Regions from separate parts of the Homo sapiens genome. Here region 1 is linked to region 2. Evidence: promoter capture Hi-C in human tissues and cell types (Jung and others, 2019). All regions are on one chromosome and are shown on one strand. Each heading gives the region's core, a stretch centred on a gene start or on the middle of the fragment in contact. The rest is flanking DNA. Distances are from core to core; before and after follow the strand shown.

The links. Contacts are between HindIII fragments. The study calls those that stand out against the background at their distance.
Region 1: a fragment that was not itself captured here is called in contact with the fragment with the promoter of DUS1L in region 2 in 1 of the 25 tissues and cell types used here (spleen).

Annotation. Positions count from the first base shown.
Region 1 is chr17:81,686,284-81,690,509 of GRCh38, reverse strand. HGS (hepatocyte growth factor-regulated tyrosine kinase substrate) reads right to left here. Exons shown (of 22, transcript NM_004712.5): 3 at 4,123-4,198; 4 at 3,415-3,507; 5 at 1,683-1,806; 6 at 276-328. Among named protein-coding and RNA genes, the nearest start is that of HGS, 4.4 kb to the right of the region's middle. The HindIII fragment of the contact is 5,827 bases long and covers 1-4,226 here.
Region 2 is chr17:82,064,290-82,068,905 of GRCh38, reverse strand. It overlaps DUS1L (dihydrouridine synthase 1 like), which reads left to right and starts at 3,102. Exons shown (of 14, transcript NM_022156.5): 1 at 3,102-3,293; 2 at 3,837-4,083. The coding sequence starts at 3,847. RefSeq lists silencers at 3,031-3,090, 3,101-3,170, 3,461-3,510 and an enhancer at 3,734-4,462. The HindIII fragment of the contact is 11,103 bases long and covers 2,888-4,616 here.

The DNA of each region.
Region 1 (4,226 bases), core at 268-2,767, 380 kb after region 2:
CTGCCGAGGCCTGAGGAAGGGACTTCCTTCCTCATCAAAGGTGCTTGTTTTCCTTTCCCGAGCCCCCTAGCCACTCTAAAGGCCCTCAAGCCACGTCTCCACCTCGCCCTGCAGAGACAGCTGCTACGCCTCCGCCCAGGACACACAGGCATCCTCAGGTCCCAGACAGACGAGAGCTCAGCCACCAACCCTCAAACAAGCCGGGCTCCCAGCACTCCCCTTCACGCTTCCTGAGCAGCCCGACTCCAGAACCCCTGGCGGCCGCCCACACTCACTCTCTCGGCAGCAAACATGGCATCGCTCTCTTTGAATTCTGGAAAGACGTGCCCTGGAGAGATGAAGCCATAGTCACTGCCTGCTCCCACCTGGCCTGCAAGACTTCCGGGAGCCCCTTCCTCACTCTCGGCAGCTGCAACGCAGCAGTGACCGTGCACCCAAGTGAAGGTGTCTGGGGGCACCGAGACAGCCTCCTGCCCCCAAGATTGGGTGTCCCCATGGGGCCTCTGTCCTCACTGTGGCGGGAGACAAGAGCCAGGCCCTGCTGCCCTCTTCCTGAGACACTGCTCCCACTCCATCAGGGCATGAGGCCCCTGCGTGGCCCCGCCTGCTGAGTGGCTCCCTCACCCTCTGCTCTCTGGCCAGGGCTCCCACTGATCCTGAGGACAAGACCTTGAGCTATTCTTGACACACGACCCCAGAAAAAATCCAGGAGAGCTCCCACCCCAGGAAGGAGACAGGAGCACAGACCACCAGCATCCACCACCCCAAAGTTGAGGGTCCAAGGCAGCTCGTGCAGCGCCCCCTGCGTTCTTCCCGTGTTCTCCACACTGGTCCTGCCCACCCTGCAGCCACAGGGCAAGCGTCCAACTCCTGCAGCGGGGACGCACCACCCCTGGAGCCTGCCCCATTCCCCACGCTCTCAGCCTCGTCTTCAGCAGACTCAGGGCCACAGAGAACCCGCACAGATGTGAGCAGCCATGCCCACCTCTCTCTCACTGAGTGGGCCCTGAGCACCAGCCAAGACTCCCAAATGCATCCTGAAGCCCCCACCTCTCTCTACACAATCCCCTAGTTCTCCACGGCCACAATGGCCGAGAGGGACCCTTAAGAAACACACCTTGGCAGCCACGACCTAGACGAAAACCCACCAGAGGCCTCCTGCTGCGCTGACAGCAACCCTGAACTCCAGCCCAACAGCCTGGAGGCCCTCGGCGCACAGGCCCGGCTGCACTCTCCTCTGGCACGCTGGCCACCTTTCTGCCCTGGGGCCTCAACCCTGAGTGTCTGCCCACGGGTGCTGCCTGCCTGCTCACGCCGGCTCTGGCTTCTGTTCCAGTCTCGACACTTGGGACAGCTCCTTCAGAGGCCTTCCCTGACTGCACAGCCCAACCCGGCCCCCAGGAGTCCTGCCACTCTGAAACAGGCTGTCTGCTGCCTTTTCACCTGTGTGTTGTCTGCCATCACTGCCTGCCCCTGCCCGTGGGCCGTGGGTCCAGAAAGGCAGGAGCCGGTCTGAACCCGCCCTCACATGCACGGTCTTCCCTGGCTCCAGGCCACCGCCCTCCTCCCTCCCAACACAGGGAACAACCCATCTTCCCAGGCCCCTCGCCACTGTGCCCGTTGAGCCTGACTGCCCAGCAGTTCCAAGCCTCAACCTGGTCCCAACCTCAGTCCTGACTCACCCTCCACCTTCATGATCTGGTAGGTGTCCTGGACCACCTTGTACTTGGGCTCGTTCCGGAAGGCATGCGCCCAGGCCTGGATCAGGTACAGGATCTTGTTACGGACGTTTACCTCCACTTGTCTCTGCAGGCAGGGAGAAGGGGGTGAGGGTCGCAGGACACTCCAGGCGCCAGAGGCCTCGGTGTGAGGAAGCAGCTGGCAGACCTCAGCCTCTGAGCAGATGGGGCTGACACAGAGGCCAGGGAGGGCCCCCCGAGTGGGGCGTGGGGGCCATGCACCAACCTGTTCCCAGACCCTGAGTTCAAACCTCACGCCTGCCTCTACTTGCTGGAGCCAAACAACGCCGCGTCTCTGTGCCCCTGACCATCTGTCTCTCCCTTTCCCCACGGGACCTGCCCACCCCAGGATCCCCGGTTCCCGTCAGCCTCCAACAGGCAGGACCCGGCAGGCCTGACGGTGGCAGCGTGGTGTTGGGGCTGAGAACACAGGGGTACTGCGGGGCTCTGGCCACGCCCCTCCTTCCAGTCACAGCCGGGGAGACGCGGGGGGCAGCCGCTCCAGAAATGCCTCCAAATTCAGAGCGGGCTCCAGACCCCCTGCAGCCATCCTCTCCCCCGGTTAGAGCGCAGCCTGGCCTCGCGTCTACGGCCCTCTCGGGGACGCCGTCCCGGTGTGACGTGCAGGACGGCGTGCGATCAGAGGCTGCTGCAAGCAGGCTCCGGGGCACTTGCACCTCAGCCTAAGCTCCTTTCCAGAACCCCTCTGCATCCTCAGCGGCGCCTTCCCTTCACAGCCCTGCCTCACCCCAGAGGAGCGAACCGGCTCAGGATCTGCAGCCTGACTGAAGGAGCTCAGGAGCACCAGGGTCGGGCAGGGCCAGACTCCGGCACCTTCCGCCTCTCAGCCAGGACAGGACGGGACAGGAAGCCAGCCAAAGTGGCCAGTGAGGGCCTTTGAGAGGCCTGGCTGTCCACCGGGATCCCCGGGCAGGTTCTCAGCTGTGTGAGTCCAGGGAGTCTCCTATGAGACCCAGGTCTGGCCCACAGGTTGGGACAGAAGGGGAGCAGCCTGACTACATGGGACACTCTTTCTCCTTGACACCTGCAACAGCATCCCCACTGCATCACAGTCCACATCACAGTCCCTGCAGGTGTCCCCAGCACAATCCCTGCAGATGTCCCCGGCACAATCTCCTGGGGATCTGGAGGGCTTTTCCTCCTCTGCCCAGGAAAGCATGAAGCCCTCGCTCTCCAAAACAGCTCTTATCCCCGCCAGACACATCCGATCTTACAAGCCCCCGCTCAGAGCCCTCCCAGGCCCCTGCCTGTGGGATGTGGCCAGCCTGCCCTCCGGACCACAGCCACTCTCACACACGATAGCCACCACCTGCCCTGCCCACCCAGTGGCATCTACTCACCTTCCCTAAGACAGCAGGTGCCCAAGCCCTGCCTCCCGGAAGCTTCCCCCAGGCCCCAGGGTCGCTGTCACCTTGGTCCTCCAGACACAGCACCCCAGGCCGGCTCCTGCTAAACCCTGACCTCCCTGGATTGGGGCTCACGGCCCTGTCTCTCCGACTCATGAGTGCGAGCTTGCGCAGTGCAGGGACCACCGATCTGCACCTGCACATTTTCCGCCACACCTGGTGCTGTTCTGTCATCAGTGCCCAGTAAACACCCGGAGAAGCAAAGGTGCCAGCCTGGGTGGCCACCCGCATGCCCCCGTCTCACCCACCTTCAGCAGGTCCTTCAGCTCCTCCATGGTCTGCTTGTTGGCCACCTCATCATGAACTGTCTGGCCACAGTTCTTTACCACAGATTCCATGACCTGCAGATGCCCAGGAAGGGAAGGGTTGGGCCAGTGGTCAGGGCAGGGCCCCTCCTCCTCCCGGACAGACCCACCTCCCTGTGGGACAGCAGAGCCCTTCGACAGGCCCGTCAGTGGCCGGTGGGGAACCCGGTGGGACAGCAGAGCCCTTCGACAGGCCCGTCAGTGGCCGGAGGGGAACCCGGTGGGACAGCAGAGCCCTTCGACAGGCCCGTCAGTGGCCGGTGGGGAACCCGGTGGGACAGCAGCCCTTCAACAGGCCCGTCAGGCCAGTGGGGAACCCACATCTGAGACTCAGCAGCCTGCACAGCACCGCTCCGTGACGCCAAGTCTCACTGCCAAGCACAGCAATGACATCCGCCTTCTGGTGTTTACTCACGCAGGACCGGCTGAAGAAGTGGTGCCCACTCCCTCCCCTATCTCCTGTCTCTCCCTCAGCGTGACCCTCTCCTAGGTGGCACTGTTCACACAGGCACTCAAGGCTGAGTGGAAACTCTCCTGCTTGATGTATGCCCAGGGAGGTGGGCAAGGCCACAGGACAAACTCTTCTCATGCTGTCGTGACTAGTAGGGGGTAGGGACCCTGGGGGCCACTGAGGCACGGGGGTCTGCTTACCTCCAGGGCATACAAGGCGACGTGTGGGTTCTTGTCGTTGACTTTCTTCTTGATGGAATTCACAGCATATTTTGCTCTGAAAAGGAAACATTGATAAAAGCAGA
Region 2 (4,616 bases), core at 1,853-4,352:
TTTTGAGACAGAGTCTCGCTCTGTCATCCAGGCTGGAGTGCAGTGGCGCAGTCTCCGCTCACTGCAAGCTCAGCCTCCCAGGTTCCCGCCATTCTCCTGCCTCCGCCTCTCAAGTAGCTGGGACTACAGGGGACCGCCACCACGCCTGGCTAATTGTTTTGTATTTTTAGTAGAGACGGCGTTTCATCATGTTAGCCAAGATGGTCTTGATCTCCTGACCTCATGATCCGCCCGTCTCGGCCTCCCAAAGTGCTGGGATTACAGGCGTGAGCCACCGTGCCTGGCCTATATAATGTATTTATTTTCTTATGATTACTATGGGGATTTCAACAAGCATCGTAATTTATCACAATCTTCTTCAGATTAATACTTAATTCCAGTAAAACACAGAAACTTTGCTCCAATATAATTCCCTTCCCTCTTCCTTTTTGCTGCATTTTTCATATAATTATATGTCTCTATATATTATAACCTCTTTATAGTTACAAGTTATACACCATAAGTTATATTTTTATTATTTATTTATTTATGTTGAGACGGAGTCTCGCTCTGTCGCCCAGGCTGGAGTGCAGTGGTGCCATCTCGGCTCACTGCAAGCTCCGCCTCCTGGGTTCATGCCATTCTCCTGCCTCAGCCTCCCGAGTAGCTGGGACTATAGGCGCCCGCCACCATGCCCGGCTAATTTTTTTCGTATTTTTAGTGGAGACGGGGTTTCACCATGTTAGCCAGGATGGTCCCGATCTCCTGACCTCATGATCCGCCCGTCTCGGCCTCCCAAAGTGCTGAGATTACAGGCATGAGCCGCCGCGCCCGGCTAAAAGGCAAAAGATTCATATGATCTGGGCTGGGCGTGGTGGCTCATGCCTGTAATCCCAGCATTTTAGGAGGTCGAGATGGGCAGATCATGAGGTCAGGAGATCGAAACCATCCTGGCTAATGGTGAAACCCCATCTCTACTAAAAATACAAAAAATTAGCCGGGTGTGGTGGCGGGCACCTGTAGTCCCAGCTACTCGGGAGGCTGAGGCAGGAGAATCGCTTGAACCTGGGAGGTGGAGCTTGCAGTGAGCAGAGATCGTGCCACCGCCCTCCAGCCTGGGTGACAGAGCGAGACTCTGTCTTAAAAAAAAAATCTTTTACCTTTTACAATTACTGGTTCGATACTGTGCTTAAATATTCTGAACCAGTAGGGCCTCCAGCCTCTGCTGATGGCGCTGTGTGTGGGTTGTGGCTGCATTTGGAATTCAGGTAGTTTTTACAATTTGGACTTGGCTTTTACTTTTTGCTTGTACAAAGCCTCACGTTCAGCCAGGGCGGTGGACAGCTGGGGCCCTCGCCTGTCTTTCCTTAGTGTGCACCCAACCTTGCAGTCCACCAGGGACATCTGGCCACCTCTGAAGACCACCAAGGCTGTTCTATCTGTGAATGCAGAAAATCTGAGACAGGTCTCAGTTAATTTAGAAGGTTTATTTTGCCAAGGTTGAGGACATGCCCATGGCACAGCCTCAGGAGGTCCTGACAACATGTGCCTGAGGTGGTTGGGGCACAGCTTGGTTTTATACATTTTAGGGAGACATGAGACATCAATCAATATATGTAAGATGAACATAGCGGCTAGCTGCGGTGGCTCACGCCTGTAATCCCAGCACTTTGGGAGGCCAGCGGATCACCTGATGTCAGGAGTTCGAGACCAGCCTGGCCAACATGGTGAAACCCCCATCTCTACTAAAAATACTAAAATTAGCTGGGTGTGTTGGTGGGTGCCTGTAATCCCAGTTATTTGGGAAGCTGAGGGAGGAGAATCGCTTGAACCTGGGAGATGGAGGTTGCAGTGAGCCGAGATCACGCCACCGCACTCCAGCCTGGGTCAGAAAGCGACTCCGTCTCAAAAAAAAAAATTGGTTCAGTCTGGAAAGGCGGGACAATTTAAAGCAAAAGCCATCGGGGAGGGAGCTTCCTGGTCACAGATAGGTGATACACAAACGGTTACATTGTTTTGAGTTTCTGATTAGCCTTTTTTTTTTTTCTTTTCCTTTTTGATCAGTCTTGCTCTGTCGCCAGGCTGGAGTACAATGGCTTGATCTCGGCTCACTGCAACCTCCGCCTCCCAGGTTCAAGCGATTCTCCTGCCTCAGCCTCCCGAGTAGCTGGGACTACAGGGGCGCACCACCACACCTGGCTAATTTTGTATTTTCAGTAGAGACAGGGTTTCACCGTGTTGGCCAGGCTGGTCTCGAACTCCTGGTCTCAATGTGCGCCACCGCGCCCAGCCTTCTGATGAGCCTTTTCAAAGGAGTCAGTCAGATATCCATCTATCTCAGCGAGCAGAGGGTGACTCTGAATAGAGCGGGAGGCAGGTTTGCCCTGAGCAGCTTCCAGCCTGAGTTTTCCTTAGTGATTCCGGGGGCCCAAGAGATTTCACATGTTTTAGGTACTGAATGTCCTGGTTCAACTTCGGGCTTCGCTCTCAGATATGGAAAGCTCTGACAAAGCTGCTTTTTACATCTGTTGGGTCTCAAATGCCTTCAGTTTAAAATAACCTTCACATCCACTCTGGGGTTCCCAGTGGGTCCCCACAGCTCGAAATAACCCAAGGAGGGTCCACGGCGGGTAGGAAAGTCGATCGAAGGCTGGCGGCTGCGGAAACCCAGGGCGGGCAAGGAAGGTCCCTGGAGGGTGATTTTCCGCAACGCAGCGGCGGAAAGTGAGTGGCTTTCAGAGGCGGCAGGTGAGTGGGTTCGAGGCAGGGCTCTGGGGCCGCTTTAGGATATAACGGGATGAAGCCCCCAATGCGAACTTGGGGGCTGGGCAGCGCAGGGCCTCAGCGCCCACGGTCTACCCGCGGCCCGGGCCTTATGTGCGCCTCAGCGAGGCCCAATTTCCACATGCCTCGTTTCCAGCGAGCTGTCGGTGAGTCCCGGCGAGCCCCGACCCCTCTCTAGCCACGGCCTGACGGGTACGGTGGTGACCTCAGCCTCTGACCTCCGACCCCGCGCCGCGACCTCTCGTCGCCGGTCCCCTCGGAGCCGGGCGCGGTTTCCGGGGAACGCGTTTCCCGCCGCACCGTGGGCCGCCCGGACCGCGCAGGACCGGGCACCTTCCGGTGGCGGCGCGGAGCCTTGGGCCCGGCTGCGGCCCGGCGGCGGCCCCGGCGCGGTGCGGGCGTTCGCGGCGCCCCGGGAGCTGCAGGGGCCCCGGGCGGCGGCGAGGCCGGAGAGGGGCGGGCCCGGGACACCGGCACCCGGCGCCCTCGGAGCCAAAGGCGCGCGGCGGACACGGCGGGGCCCTCGCGCGGTGAGGACGCGGAGGCGTGTGGGCTCCTGTCACTTCACACAGCAAACGCTGCCCGCCGCGTGGCTCCGGAGGAGTCTCGCGAGGGGCGCCCCTGTGGCGTTTCGGGCCAGCCGGGCCGCCTGGCCGGGTGCGGAGAAGGAAGCTCTGCCCTTCCCCTGGCCCGGCGCGGAGCCGATTCTCCCGGGAAGGGGCCGGGGGTCCTAACTTCACCGCCGGGCGGCCTGCTCAGGGCCAGGCCCGCGGGGACGCTGGCGTCAAGGTTTCTTCCCCCTTCACGCCAGTCCCCTACCAGGCCGACATCGAGTCCCGCTCCCCAGGGAGGGTCAAGTCCCAGGGGTCCAGCGGCTCCCCCGAGGTCCGCTAGGAGGTGGCGGCACTGGAGTGGCCGTTCTCCAGCCTGCACCGACCCCCGCCTTTAGTGCCCCCGCGTGTGACCCAACGGTGGTACTGGAGCGGCCTTAGAAGGGTGACCGCTGCCTCTGAGTTGAGTCTTAAGCCCCTCGTTGGGCCTGGCTGAACCCCGGGTCTGCGCCTTTCCCCCAGCCTGGAGACGATGCCAAAGCTGCAGGGCTTCGAGTTCTGGAGCCGCACCCTGCGAGGGGCCCGCCACGTCGTGGCCCCCATGGTGGACCAGAGCGAGCTGGCCTGGAGGCTGCTGAGCCGGCGCCACGGGGCACAGCTCTGCTACACGCCCATGCTGCATGCCCAGGTCTTTGTCCGCGACGCCAACTACCGGAAGGAGAACCTGTACTGCGAGGTGTGCCCCGAGGACCGGCCCCTCATCGTGCAGGTGCGCAGGAGGGGCTGTGGCCGCGGCCGCGGTTGGGTTCCCGGTCCTGGAATGCCTGGGGAAAAACCCTTCTCTCTGTGGCGGGACATCACTTTCAGCCTTTCCAGAGACAGCTCAATTCCAGGAGGAGAGGGAGAAGGTGGCACCAGGCATGTAGAGTCCACGTAGCCACAGCAGTGATTCCTGTGGTGGAGCCAGGGCTGCCAGGTGCACCTGCCAGAATCCAACCCCATTCTCTAGGAGTGGCTCAGGCAGCCTGGGTGCTGTGAGGTTTGCAGCCCTGCTGGGGCCTCTGGATTGCTGCCTCTCACACTCACACTCCCTCTTCAGAACCAGTGGAGATGGCTCTGCTCTTCAGAAGTCAGTGATTGTGGCTTCTGCCACAGTTCAGAAGAAAATCTGTAAATCCGGGTGGCTTGGGGACTCCTCCCGGCTTTGTCATATTGTAAGCCTCCGCAGGACAGAGCACCCTCCTGCAGTGAACCTGGGCCCACACCCTCATGGGGTCACACTGGACCTCTCGTAGGGCTGGG